4 separate regions of the Homo sapiens genome follow, and regions 2, 3 and 4 are each linked to region 1. Evidence: promoter capture Hi-C in human tissues and cell types (Jung and others, 2019). All regions are on one chromosome and are shown on one strand. Each heading gives the region's core, a stretch centred on a gene start or on the middle of the fragment in contact. The rest is flanking DNA. Distances are from core to core; before and after follow the strand shown.

Region 1 (2,991 bases), core at 197-2,696:
CATGCCAATGTCACAGGCACCTCAGGATGCTCAAGACACGGCAGCTCGCGCTGATCACCCCGTGGATCCTCAGAGGAGGCTGGGCTGCCAGAGTCTGGGCAAAGTGTATCGTTTTCGTTTCGCCCTCCCCCAACCTTTGCTTCCCCGAGGCGGTCCCGCTGGGTGCCCACTGGTACTCACAGGCTGCCCGAGTACTGGCTGCCCCCAAGGAAGCCATACTTGTCCGTCTTGCGCAGGGCCAGCCCGTTTATCTCTGAATCTGAGCCCATGGAGCTCACATCATCCGCCAAGGACTCCAAGGTCCCAGACATGAGGCTCACGGAGTCCAAGTAACTCAGCGTGTCCGGGGCCTGCCCTCGAGGCCCAGAGATGCCAGGTCCCAGGCTGGACGTGGAGCCCAGGTCTTGAGAGTTTTCAGCAGGCTCCGGAGCTGGGGTCACGGTCACGACAGCTACCGGAGCCTCACAAGTCCCAGAGGGGCCTGTGCCAGGGCCTGAGGGGTCCTCAGGAGCCTGTCCTGCTGATGCTGATGTTGCTGCGGCAGCTCCATGCCCACCTGTCACTTGTCCTGATGCACTCCGTGCAGTCACTCCTGAGGCCACTGTGGTTCCCGGCTTGGGGGCAAGCGGGGGTTTGGCGGTCAGGGCACCAGGAGCCGTTCTGGAAGGGGTCCTGGTAGGGGTCCCGGTGGGGGTCCCTGGTCCTGGGGCGGGTGAGGGTCGAGCCTCCTCTGTCTTCGGCGAGTCTGCCCCTGCGGCCAGAGCCCTCGATGTCTCAACTCCAGCCACTGCCGCGGGCTCTGGGGATTCCGGGCCGGAGGGGAGCTGCGGCTTTGGGGCTTCGGGCGAGGCCTCCAGGGTCAGCACCACCACCGTGCTGCCCGTGACAGCCGGGGCTGGGGCCGGGGCTGGGGCCGGGGCCGGAGCAGAGGTCTCGGCCGACCCCGGGACCCAGGCGGGCCGCGCCTCCCCGGGGGCCACCAGGGTGACGGGGGCCGAAGTGGCCGTAGTCACTGGAGGTCCCGGAGCCACCACCACGACGGGCCCGGCCCGGGAACCCCGGGGCGGCGGCGAGGGGGCCGCGGGGGCGCCATGACGGCGCGGCGGGGCCACCAGGGGCGCCGTGCCCGTCTCCATGGCCGCGGGCCGCCCCTCACATCCCCCCGCCGGGGAGGCCGCAGAAGGCGCCGCCCCTCGGGCCTCCCGGCGAGGCCAGCCGAGAAAGGGGAGAGGGCGAAGGGCGCGGCTCGGCGCGCGCCGGGGGCGGAGCGGCCGCTGGGCGCGCAGAGGCGGGGCAGGGGTCGGGGGGCGCCGCGCGCCGGGGTCTCTCTCGAGCCCTCTCACCCCCTCGCGCGCTCTCGCCACCGCCCCCTCCCTCCTGCTTGGGGGCGAGCCGCCGACCTCGCGCCTGCGCACACGCCGCAGAGCCGGCTCCGCGCCAGCGTCTCGGCGTTCCACGCCTGCGCGCGGACTGGCTCATCGCGCTCCTTTTTTCTCCCGCCTAGTCAGAGGATTTGGACGAATAGTGGGAGAGAGAGAACTGGGCTTCTGCCAATCGTTGGAATCGTGGGCGGGGCTGGAGGCGAAAAAGGGGTGGGTCATCTGGAAAGAGGAAACGGAGAAAGCTAGGGCTGTAAGACCAATCAGAGGACGAGGAAAGGCAGGGGGCGATGGGACGAAAGAAATAACCAATAGAAACGCAGGGGTCTGAACCTCCTGGCCAATGAATATGACTGAAGGGTGAATGACCGCGGAAGGGCGGAGGAGGAGGCAGGGCTGTGCGAGTAAGAGGTGGGGCCTGGAGGCTTCTTAACCAATAGGAATGGTAAAAAGGGAGCCAATGAAAAGGGGAGCAGGTGGAGGTCAAATTGACAGGCAGTGATGTCTATTTAGGCGGTGACAGACAGCATCCGCAGTCAATAGGAAGAGCTGAAGAATTCTTTAGGTCTCCCAAAATGGTCAGTAAGGAATGACAGCTGGGAGGAGGCGGGGCAAGCTAGAGATTAATTCGCCCCGTCAGCCAATGATCGTGTTCTCCCACTTTGGCCACAGGACAGGAAAATAGATAGCTGTCTCAGCCAATGGGAGCATCCAAAGGGCAAAGATGCTGCCAGCAGGCGGTGCCAGCCCAGGGATAGTCGGTGACAACCGGAGACAAGCCTTATGGGAGGGTGACAGCTGGGGACAGCACGGAGAAGGGGCGGGGGCATTAGTGCAGCCCTCAACCAATGAGTGCCGCGCTGCCCCCTCTCGAGTCCTTTCCGGTCCCCTATTCTTCGTTCAGCTCCTGAGCCCCACACTCTGGTGGTCTGTGGGACCCTGAGCCCCACCACAGATCCAGTGCCCTGACCCAGTACTCTCATCCTTTACTCTATAATTCTCCGATCTCGGCCCCCAACTAACCCCAACACTCCAGGCCCAGGTGGCAATAGCCAGAGCCCCCAGATCCTATAAGCAACCCATATCTCTGCTTCACCCATTTCCTGCGGGAATCCCAACCTCCAAGTCCCTCTCCTCAGTTCCCATCTATCTGAGCTCCTCCCCAGAACCCAGGCTCCAGTTCCTCAGACCTTATCCCTCTGAGTACCCCCTCCATTTCTTCTAGTGGGGATCTCAAACCCCAAATCCATGAATCCCTAATACCATGAACTCCCCATATGTGTGTTACTATTCTTTTGGGGATCCAAGGCCCCAGTCCCGTCAACCCCTCTCCCCTCACTGCCACATCCCTCTGTGCTCCTCATGTTCCACTGAGAATCCCGACCTCAATCTCATGAGCGCTCCAGGTTGTCCTTAGATCACAAGCATAAAGACCTGACGTTATGAGCTCCAACCTTCCAACTTCTAAACGCCCTCTTCTTTCTCTGACCCCCATATTCTGATTTCCATATAGCATCCACCATCCTGGAATTCCAGTGAGACCTAGCTCCCGACTTCTCAGCTCCTCCTTGGTTTCTGAGTCCTCTAAGGTCCCTCACTCCCAACTCAGCCC
Region 2 (2,991 bases), core at 316-2,815, 710 kb before region 1:
CTCCCTGTGGGAACCTGGGCTTACCAGGGCCCCTAGAGGAGGGGAATCTCTCAAGCTCAGAGCTCTATGGCTGCGGTGCAGGCCCACTGTGTGCATGGTGTCAGTCTGGGCCCTTCCATGTTGCCCCCGTGGGACTTGGGGTAAGGGGAACTGATGCAAACATCACGCTGCTGTTGCTTGGTGTGAGCAATTAATTCCTGTGGCTCTCACCCAGGAGTCTCATGTCTTTGGGTCAGACAAACTCATCAGCTTGTAGAAATGGCACAGTCCCACGGGCCTGTTAGAATCTTCTATTGTGCACATGTTGCTCTTAAAATATACAAATCAGTTTTGATTTTAAAAAATTATTTATTTTTTTAGTGATAGGAGTTTTGCTACGTTGCCCAGGCTGGTTTCAAACTCTTGGGCTCAGGAGGTCCTCCCACTTTGGCCTGGACTGCCAGCATAATGTATCACCACACCCGGGACTGATTTTCGTTTTTCAAGAACAAAAACCAAAAACATACACAAACCGAGAGTCAAAGCTTGCTAATTAGAGGAAAGTCAGGAAATGGGAACCATTCAAAGAAGAAAATACCCCCACCTCCTACTCTCACCTATCCAAAGACAATTAGGTGAATCCCTTAGTAGATATCTTTCCAGACGGTTTTCCATATAGATTCCCATATCTGGCCAGGCGCGGTGGCTCACACCTGTAATCCTAGCGCTTGGGGAGGCTGAGGCGGATGGACCACCTGAGGTCAGGAGTTCGAGACCAGCCTGACCAACATGGAGAAACCTCGTCTCTACGAAAAATACAAAATTAGCCGGGCACAGTGGTGCAAGCCTGTAATCCCAGCTACTCAGGAGGCCGAGGCAGGAGAATTGCTTGAACCTAGGAGGCAGACATTGTGCTGAGCCGAGCCAAGATCATGCCATTGCACTAAACTCCGCCTTAAAAAAAAAAAAAAAGATTCCCACATCTTTACTAGTTTGCAGAAATAAGATCCTAGCATATGCAGTGTGTAGGAACCACCTTGGTTTAGCCACGTCTCTGTGACTGGGGGCCACTGTGGTGACCCCCAGCTCCCCGGACAGAGTCAAGAGCTCACCAGCCTGCAAAGGTTTTCACGGCCCCCAGCCAGACTCGGGGGCTTCCTCTTGCCCTGCTACTTCCTGGGAGCTCTGAGGGCAGGAAATGGCGCCACTCAGCTCCTGGCCTAACAGCTTGGGGACCACAAATGCAAAGGAAACCACCCTCCCCTCCCACCTCCTCCTCTGCACCCTTGAGTTCTCAGGCTCACATTCCCACCACCCACCTCTGAGCCCAGCCCTCCCTAGCATCACCACTTCCATCCCATTCCTCAGCCAAGAGCCAGGAATCCTGATTCCAGATCCCACGCTTCCCTGCCTCCCTCAGGTGAGCCCCAGACCCCCAGGCACCCCGCTGGCCCCTGAAGGAGCAGGTGATGGTGCTGTCTTCGCCCAGCAGCTGTGGGAGCAGGCGGGTGGGGCAGGATGGAGGGGTGGGTGGGGTGGGTGGAGCCAGGGCCCACTTCCTTTCCCCTTGGGGCCCTGTCCTTCCCAGTCTTGCCCCAGCCTCGGGAGGTGGTGGAGTGACCTGGCCCCAGTGCTGCGTCCTTATCAGCCGAGCCGGTAAGAGGGTGAGACTTGGTGGGGTAGGGGCCTCAGTGGGCCTGGGAATGTGCCTGTGGCTTGAAAAGACTCTGACAGGTTATGATGGGAAGAGATTGGGAGCCATTGGGCTGCACAGGGTCAGGGAAGGCCAGGAGGGGCTGGTCACTGCTGGAATCTAAGCTGCTGAGGCTGGAGGGAGCCTCAGGATGGGGCTGATGGGGGAGCTGCCAGCATCTGTTCCTCTGTCATTTCTGATAACAGTAAAAGCCAGCATGGAAAAAACCGTTAAACCGCAGGTTGGGCCTGGCCGTTGGCAGGGAAGTGGGCAGAGGGGAGGCCCGGCCAGGTCCTCCGGCAACTCCCGCGTGTTCTGCTTCTCCGGCTGCCCACCTGCAGGTCCCAGCTCTTGCTCCTGCCTGTTTGCCTGGAAATGGCCACGCTTCTCCTTCTCCTTGGGGTGCTGGTGGTAAGCCCAGACGCTCTGGGGAGCACAACAGCAGTGCAGACACCCACCTCCGGAGAGCCTTTGGTCTCTACTAGCGAGCCCCTGAGCTCAAAGATGTACACCACTTCAATAACAAGTGACCCTAAGGCCGACAGCACTGGGGACCAGACCTCAGCCCTACCTCCCTCAACTTCCATCAATGAGGGATCCCCTCTTTGGACTTCCATTGGTGCCAGCACTGGTTCCCCTTTACCTGAGCCAACAACCTACCAGGAAGTTTCCATCAAGATGTCATCAGTGCCCCAGGAAACCCCTCATGCAACCAGTCATCCTGCTGTTCCCATAACAGCAAACTCTCTAGGATCCCACACCGTGACAGGTGGAACCATAACAACGAACTCTCCAGAAACCTCCAGTAGGACCAGTGGAGCCCCTGTTACCACGGCAGCTAGCTCTCTGGAGACCTCCAGAGGCACCTCTGGACCCCCTCTTACCATGGCAACTGTCTCTCTGGAGACTTCCAAAGGCACCTCTGGACCCCCTGTTACCATGGCAACTGACTCTCTGGAGACCTCCACTGGGACCACTGGACCCCCTGTTACCATGACAACTGGCTCTCTGGAGCCCTCCAGCGGGGCCAGTGGACCCCAGGTCTCTAGCGTAAAACTATCTACAATGATGTCTCCAACGACCTCCACCAACGCAAGCACTGTGCCCTTCCGGAACCCAGATGAGAACTCACGAGGCATGCTGCCAGTGGCTGTGCTTGTGGCCCTGCTGGCGGTCATAGTCCTCGTGGCTCTGCTCCTGCTGTGGCGCCGGCGGCAGAAGCGGCGGACTGGGGCCCTCGTGCTGAGCAGAGGCGGCAAGCGTAACGGGGTGGTGGACGCCTGGGCTGGGCCAGCCCAGGTCCCTGAGGAGGGGGCCGT
Region 3 (2,991 bases), core at 317-2,816, 570 kb after region 1:
CAGCCTGGCCAACATGGAGAAACCCTATCTCTACTAAAAATACAAAAAATTAGCCGGGCGTGGTGGCGCATGCCTGTAATCCCAGCTACTCTGGAGGCTGAGGCGGGAGAATCGCTTGAACTTGGGAGATGGTGGTTTCAGTGAGCCAAGATCACACCATTGCACTCCAGCCTGGGCAACAAGAGCGAAACTCTGTCTCAAAAAAAAAAAAAAAGTCAGGTGTGGTGGCATGTGCCTGTAGTCCCAGCTACTCAGGAGGCTGAGGTAGGAGGATGGCTTGAGCCCAGGAGTTTAAGGTTGCAGTGAGCTGTGATCGCAGTACTGCACCCCAGCCTGGGTGACTAAGCAAGACACTGTCTCAAGAAAAAAAAAAAAAAGCTTCCTGGGCCTGCTGCTTCTGACACAGTCTATTGAGTCTCAGAGGCATTTCTGGACATGCCTTTGAGAACTACTGAACTCAGAGAAGAGAGTTCTCAAACTGAGTCCAAAGGAACTTCAGTGTACTACAAAATGTTACTAGATTACCTTGGGAGAGGTGGGGAAGGATTCCTGGGGAAGTACGTTTGAGAGGCCCTTCTCCAGTTCACTGCATGTTTTTTGTTTGTTTGTTTGTTTGTTTGTTTTTGAGATGGAGTCTCTCACTGTTGCCCCAGCTGGTGTGCAGTGGTGCGATCTCGGCTCGCTGCAATCTCCGCCTCCCGGGTTCAAGTAATTCTCCTGCCTCAGCCTCCCGAGTAGCTAGGATTACAGGCGCCCGCCACCATGCCCAGCTAATTTTTTGTACTTTTAGTAGAGACAGGGTTTCACTAGTAGAACAGCCAGGCTGTTCTCGAATTCCTGACCTCATGATCCACCCACCTCGGCCTCCCAAAGTGCTGGGATTACAGGTGTGAGCCACTGCACCCAGCCCACTGCATGTTAGATAGTCTGTTGAGGCCTGTGGAGTGCTCGGGTTAGGAAACCTGTTTAATGTTGCTTAGGACTCGTTCATCTTTGTAGCTTCAATACTTGGGACCTATAACGCTTTCTATAATCAGAGTGAATAAATGAAATGCTGTAGATGAGGAGGTGGGGGAGAGTGGTCAGTGGAAGCTTTAAGTAGTTACTAGCTTGATTCATTCATTACAAATGGGCAGCTGGGTGCAGTAGCTCATGCCTGTAATCCCAGTGTTTTGGGAGGCCAAGGCAGGAGGATCGCTTGAGGCCAGGAGATCAAGACCAGCCTAGGCAACATAGTGAGACCCTGTCTCTACAAAAAAATTGTTTAAAAATTAGCCAGGCGTGGTGACATGTGCCTGTGGTCCCAGCTACTCAGGAGGCTGAGGTGGGAGGATTGCTTGAGCCCAGTAGGTTGAGGCTGCGGTGAGCCTGAGTCCAGCCTGGGTTACAGAGTGAGACCCTGTCTCAAAAAAAATTTTTTTTCAAAAAGTGGAAAACGCAAATCTGCCCTTGTGGAATTTACATTGTAGTTGGAGGAACACAGTAATGTAATAGGGAAGATATTAGGGCTGTAAGTCCAGCTGCGGGCAGCTGGCTGTCAAGATGGGACAGGTGTGGATCAGAAGCAGAGATGAGTAAAGGAGGCAAGGACCCATGAGCACCAGAACTCAGTCAGGAATCAAGAAGCCCAAGGGTGGCTGGAGACGACTGGATAACACCAGTCCCCTTGGCATGACATCAGGCAGCATGCGTGGCATTTGTGTATGTGTTGGGCAGCACACTTTCTATGCTGGGAGGCCCACAGCTGGGATGAGCCCATGTGACCTGACAGCTGCCCTGTGGGCAGGCAGAGTGGGGGGGCTATTGCCTTCAATCATAAACGAGGCTTCTGAGGCTCAGGGAGAGGAACAGACTTGCCCAGGGTCTCATTTCCAGTTAGTGATGGAGTTGGGTTCCAATCCCAGTGCTCTTGGCTGAGGTCAGGTGCTTCTTGCTACCCTGTTGTCTGTGTGGCCAGAAGAGAGCTGGGGTGCACCCTTGGAGCTGGGGAGCCTGGGAACTGTGGGCTGCTGAGAGCTGAGGGCTGAGGTCTCTGTCTCCCCCCTATGGCCGCCAGGTGCTATGACAAGCGTCTGTGGCCTCGAATGGACCTGAGCCGGCGGAAGTCACTGACCCCGCCCATGCTCAGTGGTGTGGTTCGCCGCCAGCCCCGTGCCCTGGACCTCAGCTGGACAGGTGTCTCCAAGAAGCAGCTCATGTGGCTTCTGAACCGACTACAAGGTAGGGTGTGTGGTACGGAGGACAGGGTGGGGACAGGGACAGGCCTGGGATGGAGTCCTCACAGCACCTGCTTCCTGACTGCCCCCTCTCCGCAGGCCTGCAGGAGCTGGTGCTCTCTGGCTGCTCCTGGCTCTCTGTCTCTGCCCTGGGCTCAGCCCCACTGCCAGCCCTGCGGCTCCTGGACCTCCGCTGGATCGAGGATGTTAAAGACTCCCAGCTCCGGGAGTTGCTGCTGCCTCCACCAGACACCAAACCAGGTGCAACCTCTGTTTGCTTTTCTGGAGAATGGGCTGGGCAAGGGTAGGGTAGGAGGCCTCTCAGGTCTCTTCTGACTCATGCTGGATGGTAAAGTATTTGAAGAAAGGAAAGAATACATGAGTTTGAATAGGAAGGCCCTGGTTGGGCATTATTCATTCATTCACCCACCTGCTGTGTACTTTGAACTGAGTCTTGAAAGGAACAGGGTTTTCCCAGGGAGTGTGAGACTCAGCAGTTTGGTGGGGCAGGAGGCCCATATTGGCAGAGGGGGATGCTGGGAGCAGAGGCCATCTCTCTTCATCTACTTAAATCTCATCATCCTTTAGGCCTGGGTATAAATGCCACTTCCTCCAAGAAGCTCTCCCTGATCCCACCCCACATTGAGCTCAGAGTCCCTCTCAGCTTTGAGAGCAGCCCGCCAGCATAATACTGGGCAATTGTGGAGTGCCTTGATGCACATCTGTGCCCTCCTGCCAGGGTCTCCAGCTCCCTGAGGGCAAGCGCTGGCTGGTC
Region 4 (2,991 bases), core at 191-2,690, 520 kb after region 1:
ACCCAGAGTTTTGATAATTGTTAGGCCCAGGCGAGGGCTGAGCAGGAAGAGGGGTCCTGGGCCTCCCAGAGGAGGAGGTGAAGGTCGGGAGATAGGACAGACCTGGGAAGTACTGAGAGGCAGGGTCCTGGCTCAAGCCCCCACCCCACTCTGCCTTGTGGTGTCACTACAGGAAGGTCCTCTCAGAGCCTCAGTGACCACATCTGAGCAATGGTGCATGAGACAAAACTGTCTCCAAAGACCCTCCCCAGCCCTGACGGGGAAATGACATGACACAAAATTACAAAAGGGTCTTTATTTGTAAAAAGCCAAAGGGGCCCCTGGGGCAACAGGACAGGCAGGCCGGCTTCTCAGGGGTCAGGGGCATTTGGGCAGATGCGCTTGAGTGGGGGGGCACCCTCCGAGTCCTCTGTGTCACCCTGGGCTGCCTCAGGGACAGGTGGCACTGGCTCAAAGACAGGGTAAGCTTCGGGGGCCTGGAGAGGAAGGGTGGACAGGCGTGAGCTCCACAGAACCCAGGCGTCCAGCCTCTGAGCCTCTGCCTTCTCCAAAGCCTCCACTCCCCTCCCCTCCTGGGCCCGGGAGGCAAGCCCAGGGCCAGATGCCCAGGATGCAGAGGAAGCAGGCACCAAAAACAACAACGACAGTGACACTGTGTGGAGGAACGAACCTGATATTTGATATTTCTGAAAATGCCTCGAGGTAGCCTCGTGAGAAATGTCAGAGGTTTATAAGGAATTTTCTTATGCTAATTATACAGTTAGATATTTTTTGATATTTTTTGAAAATGCATGGAGGAGCGCCATGATTTTGTCAGGCTTTATTTATTTATTTATTTTTGAGAAGGAGTCTCGCTCTGTCACCCAGGCTGGAGTACAGTGGCGCGATCCTGGCTCACTGCAGCCTCCGCCTCCCGGGTTCAAGCAATTCTCCTGCCTTAGCCTCCCGAGTAGCTGGGACTACAGGCACGTGCCACCACGCCCGGCTAATTTTTGTATTTTTAGTAGAGACGGGGTTTCACCGTGTTAGCCAGGATGGTCTCGATCTCCTGACCTCATGATCCACCCGCCTCCGCCTCCCAAAGTGCTGGGATTACAGGCGTGAGCCACCACGCCCAGCTTTGTCAGGCTTTTAATGGTCTCAATCAGCCCTGATCCAGCCCTCAGCACTTTGTCTCTGAAACACCCTTTCTTTTTCAGTCCCAAGAACCCAGCCCCTAAGCCTTCAGCTCTGTCCCAGGTCTGCCTCTCCTCCAGGCCCTCAGGACGCAGGCTCCAAGCCTTCGACTGCCCAGATCCCCCATTCCCTCCAAGACCCAGGAGTCCAGCCTTCTGGCCTCTCTCACCTCAGCTTCCAGCAGTTCTGGAACAGGCTCCTCCTTGGTCAGCATTGGGGGTTCGTCGGTGCTGCCAGCAGTTATGCCCCCGGGATCTGGAACGTCAAGGTAACAAACATCCCCTGAACAGCCACTCTGTGCCAGCAGCACAGACAGTGGGGGAAACAGATGGTCACAGGCCCCAGTCACAGAGGGCAGAGGGCCATGGGAGCAGAGAGGAGAGAGCAGGAACCTGGCTGTGCCCCAGGAAGCAGAGGAGGGAACACTGATGTGGGAGCTCGAGGGTGATGCGGTGGACAGGAAAGTATGACACGTGAGACAGAGGGAATGCATGCTAAGTTGCCACAGATTCTGGGCTTGGACTGCCTGGGTTCAAATCCTGACCTTGGGCCAGCTACTTCATTTCCATGGGCCTCAGTTTCCCCATCTGTAAAATGGGGATAATGATAGTAATTACCTCATGTGGCTGTTGTGAGGGTCAGATGAGCGGATGCAGGTAAAGCACAGTGGCTGGCACACAGTAAGTGCTCAATAAATGCTTGCTACCATTTTTATATTAGCAAAGGTATACAACTGCTTGGCACTGTCTAGACCCAGACCCAGTCCACAGGCCCACATCAGGGTTTTCTTTTTGTGTGTTTGTTTGTTTTAGTTTTTGAGACAGAGTCTCGCTGTGTCCCCCAGGCTGGAGTGCAGTGGCGCGATCTCGGCTCACTGCAACCTCCGCCTCCCAGGTTCAAGTGATTCTCCTGCCTCAGCCTCCCTAATAGCTGGATTACAGGCATGTGCCACCACGTCCCGCTGATTTTTTGTATTTTTAGTAGAGACAGGGTTTCACATTCTGGGAGGCTGAGGCAGAAGGATCGCTTGAGCCTAGGAGTTTGAAACCAGCCTGGGCAACATAGTAAGACCCTGTCTCTATAAAGAATAACAACACTAATTAGCTGAGCATGGTGATGCATGCCTGTAGTCCCAGCTACTCAGGAGGCTGACTGAGCCCAGGAATCCAAGGCTGCAGTGAGCCGTGATCACGCCTCTGCATTCCAGCCTGGGCGACAGAGTGAGACCTTGTCTCAAAAAAAAAAAAAAAAAAGCAAAGCTTAAAAAATGAAGGAAAAAGTTGTTCTGGCAGCTGTGTGGAGGTGACTAGAAGAGACCAGCTGGAACCAAAAACGGGTGAGAAATGGGAAGGCCAGGGACAGGGAGCCTAGGAGGAAGAGGTGCCAATCAGACGGGTTTGACTGCATGGAAGAAAGCAGAGCTGGCTGGGCACGGTGGCTCAAGCCTGTAATCCCAGCACTTTGGGAGGCCGAGGCAGGTGGATCACGAGGTCAGGAGTTCAAGACCATCCTGACCAACATGATGAAACCCCGTCTCTACTAAAAATACAAAAATTAGCCGGGTGTGGTGTTGTGCAGCCTGTAATCCCAGCTACTCAGGAGGCTGAGGCAGGAGAATTGCTTGAACTTGGGAGGCGGAGGTTGCAGTGAGCAAGATCGTGCCACTGCACTCCAGCCTAGGTGACAGAGTGAGACTCCATCTCAAAGGAAAAAAAAAAAGCAGAGCTGATGAGGACACAGGCCCAAGATGCTGGCTCACTGGCTGAGTTACTTCTCTGGGTCTCAGTTTCCTCATCTATAAATAGGGATCATAAC

The links. Contacts are between HindIII fragments. The study calls those that stand out against the background at their distance.
Region 2: the fragment with the promoter of SPN here is called in contact with the fragment with the promoter of TBC1D10B in region 1 in 1 of the 25 tissues and cell types used here (lymphoblastoid cells).
Region 3: a contact is called between a fragment that was not itself captured here and the fragment with the promoter of TBC1D10B in region 1, in 1 of the 25 tissues and cell types used here (pancreas).
Region 4: a fragment that was not itself captured here is called in contact with the fragment with the promoter of TBC1D10B in region 1 in 1 of the 25 tissues and cell types used here (lymphoblastoid cells).

What each region holds. Positions count from the first base shown.
Region 1 is chr16:30,369,048-30,372,038 of GRCh38, forward strand. It overlaps TBC1D10B (TBC1 domain family member 10B), which reads right to left and starts at 1,447. Exons shown (of 9, transcript NM_015527.4): 1 at 181-1,447. The coding sequence starts at 1,136. It also overlaps a transcript of MYL11 not described here. RefSeq lists silencers at 873-952, 1,043-1,332. The HindIII fragment of the contact is 6,682 bases long and covers 1-2,991 here.
Region 2 is chr16:29,661,682-29,664,672 of GRCh38, forward strand. SPN (sialophorin) reads left to right here and starts at 1,566. Exons shown (of 2, transcript NM_003123.6): 1 at 1,566-1,635; 2 at 2,014-2,991. The coding sequence starts at 2,048. RefSeq lists enhancers at 281-330, 971-1,050 and silencers at 1,231-1,290, 2,551-2,670. The HindIII fragment of the contact is 34,536 bases long and covers 1-2,991 here.
Region 3 is chr16:30,940,060-30,943,050 of GRCh38, forward strand. It overlaps FBXL19 (F-box and leucine rich repeat protein 19), which reads left to right. Exons shown (of 11, transcript NM_001382779.1): 8 at 2,057-2,220; 9 at 2,316-2,477. Among named protein-coding and RNA genes, the nearest start is that of ORAI3, 7.5 kb to the right of the region's middle. RefSeq lists a silencer at 1,951-2,080 and an enhancer at 2,505-2,991. The HindIII fragment of the contact is 5,049 bases long and covers 1-2,991 here.
Region 4 is chr16:30,887,515-30,890,505 of GRCh38, forward strand. It overlaps BCL7C (BAF chromatin remodeling complex subunit BCL7C), which reads right to left. Exons shown (of 6, transcript NM_004765.4): 5 at 1,346-1,431; 6 at 281-476. The coding sequence ends at 351. The region is part of intron 2 of MIR762HG (MIR762 host gene); the gene reads left to right. Among named protein-coding and RNA genes, the nearest start is that of MIR762, 4.9 kb to the right of the region's middle. RefSeq lists an enhancer at 1-443. The HindIII fragment of the contact is 5,651 bases long and covers 1-2,991 here.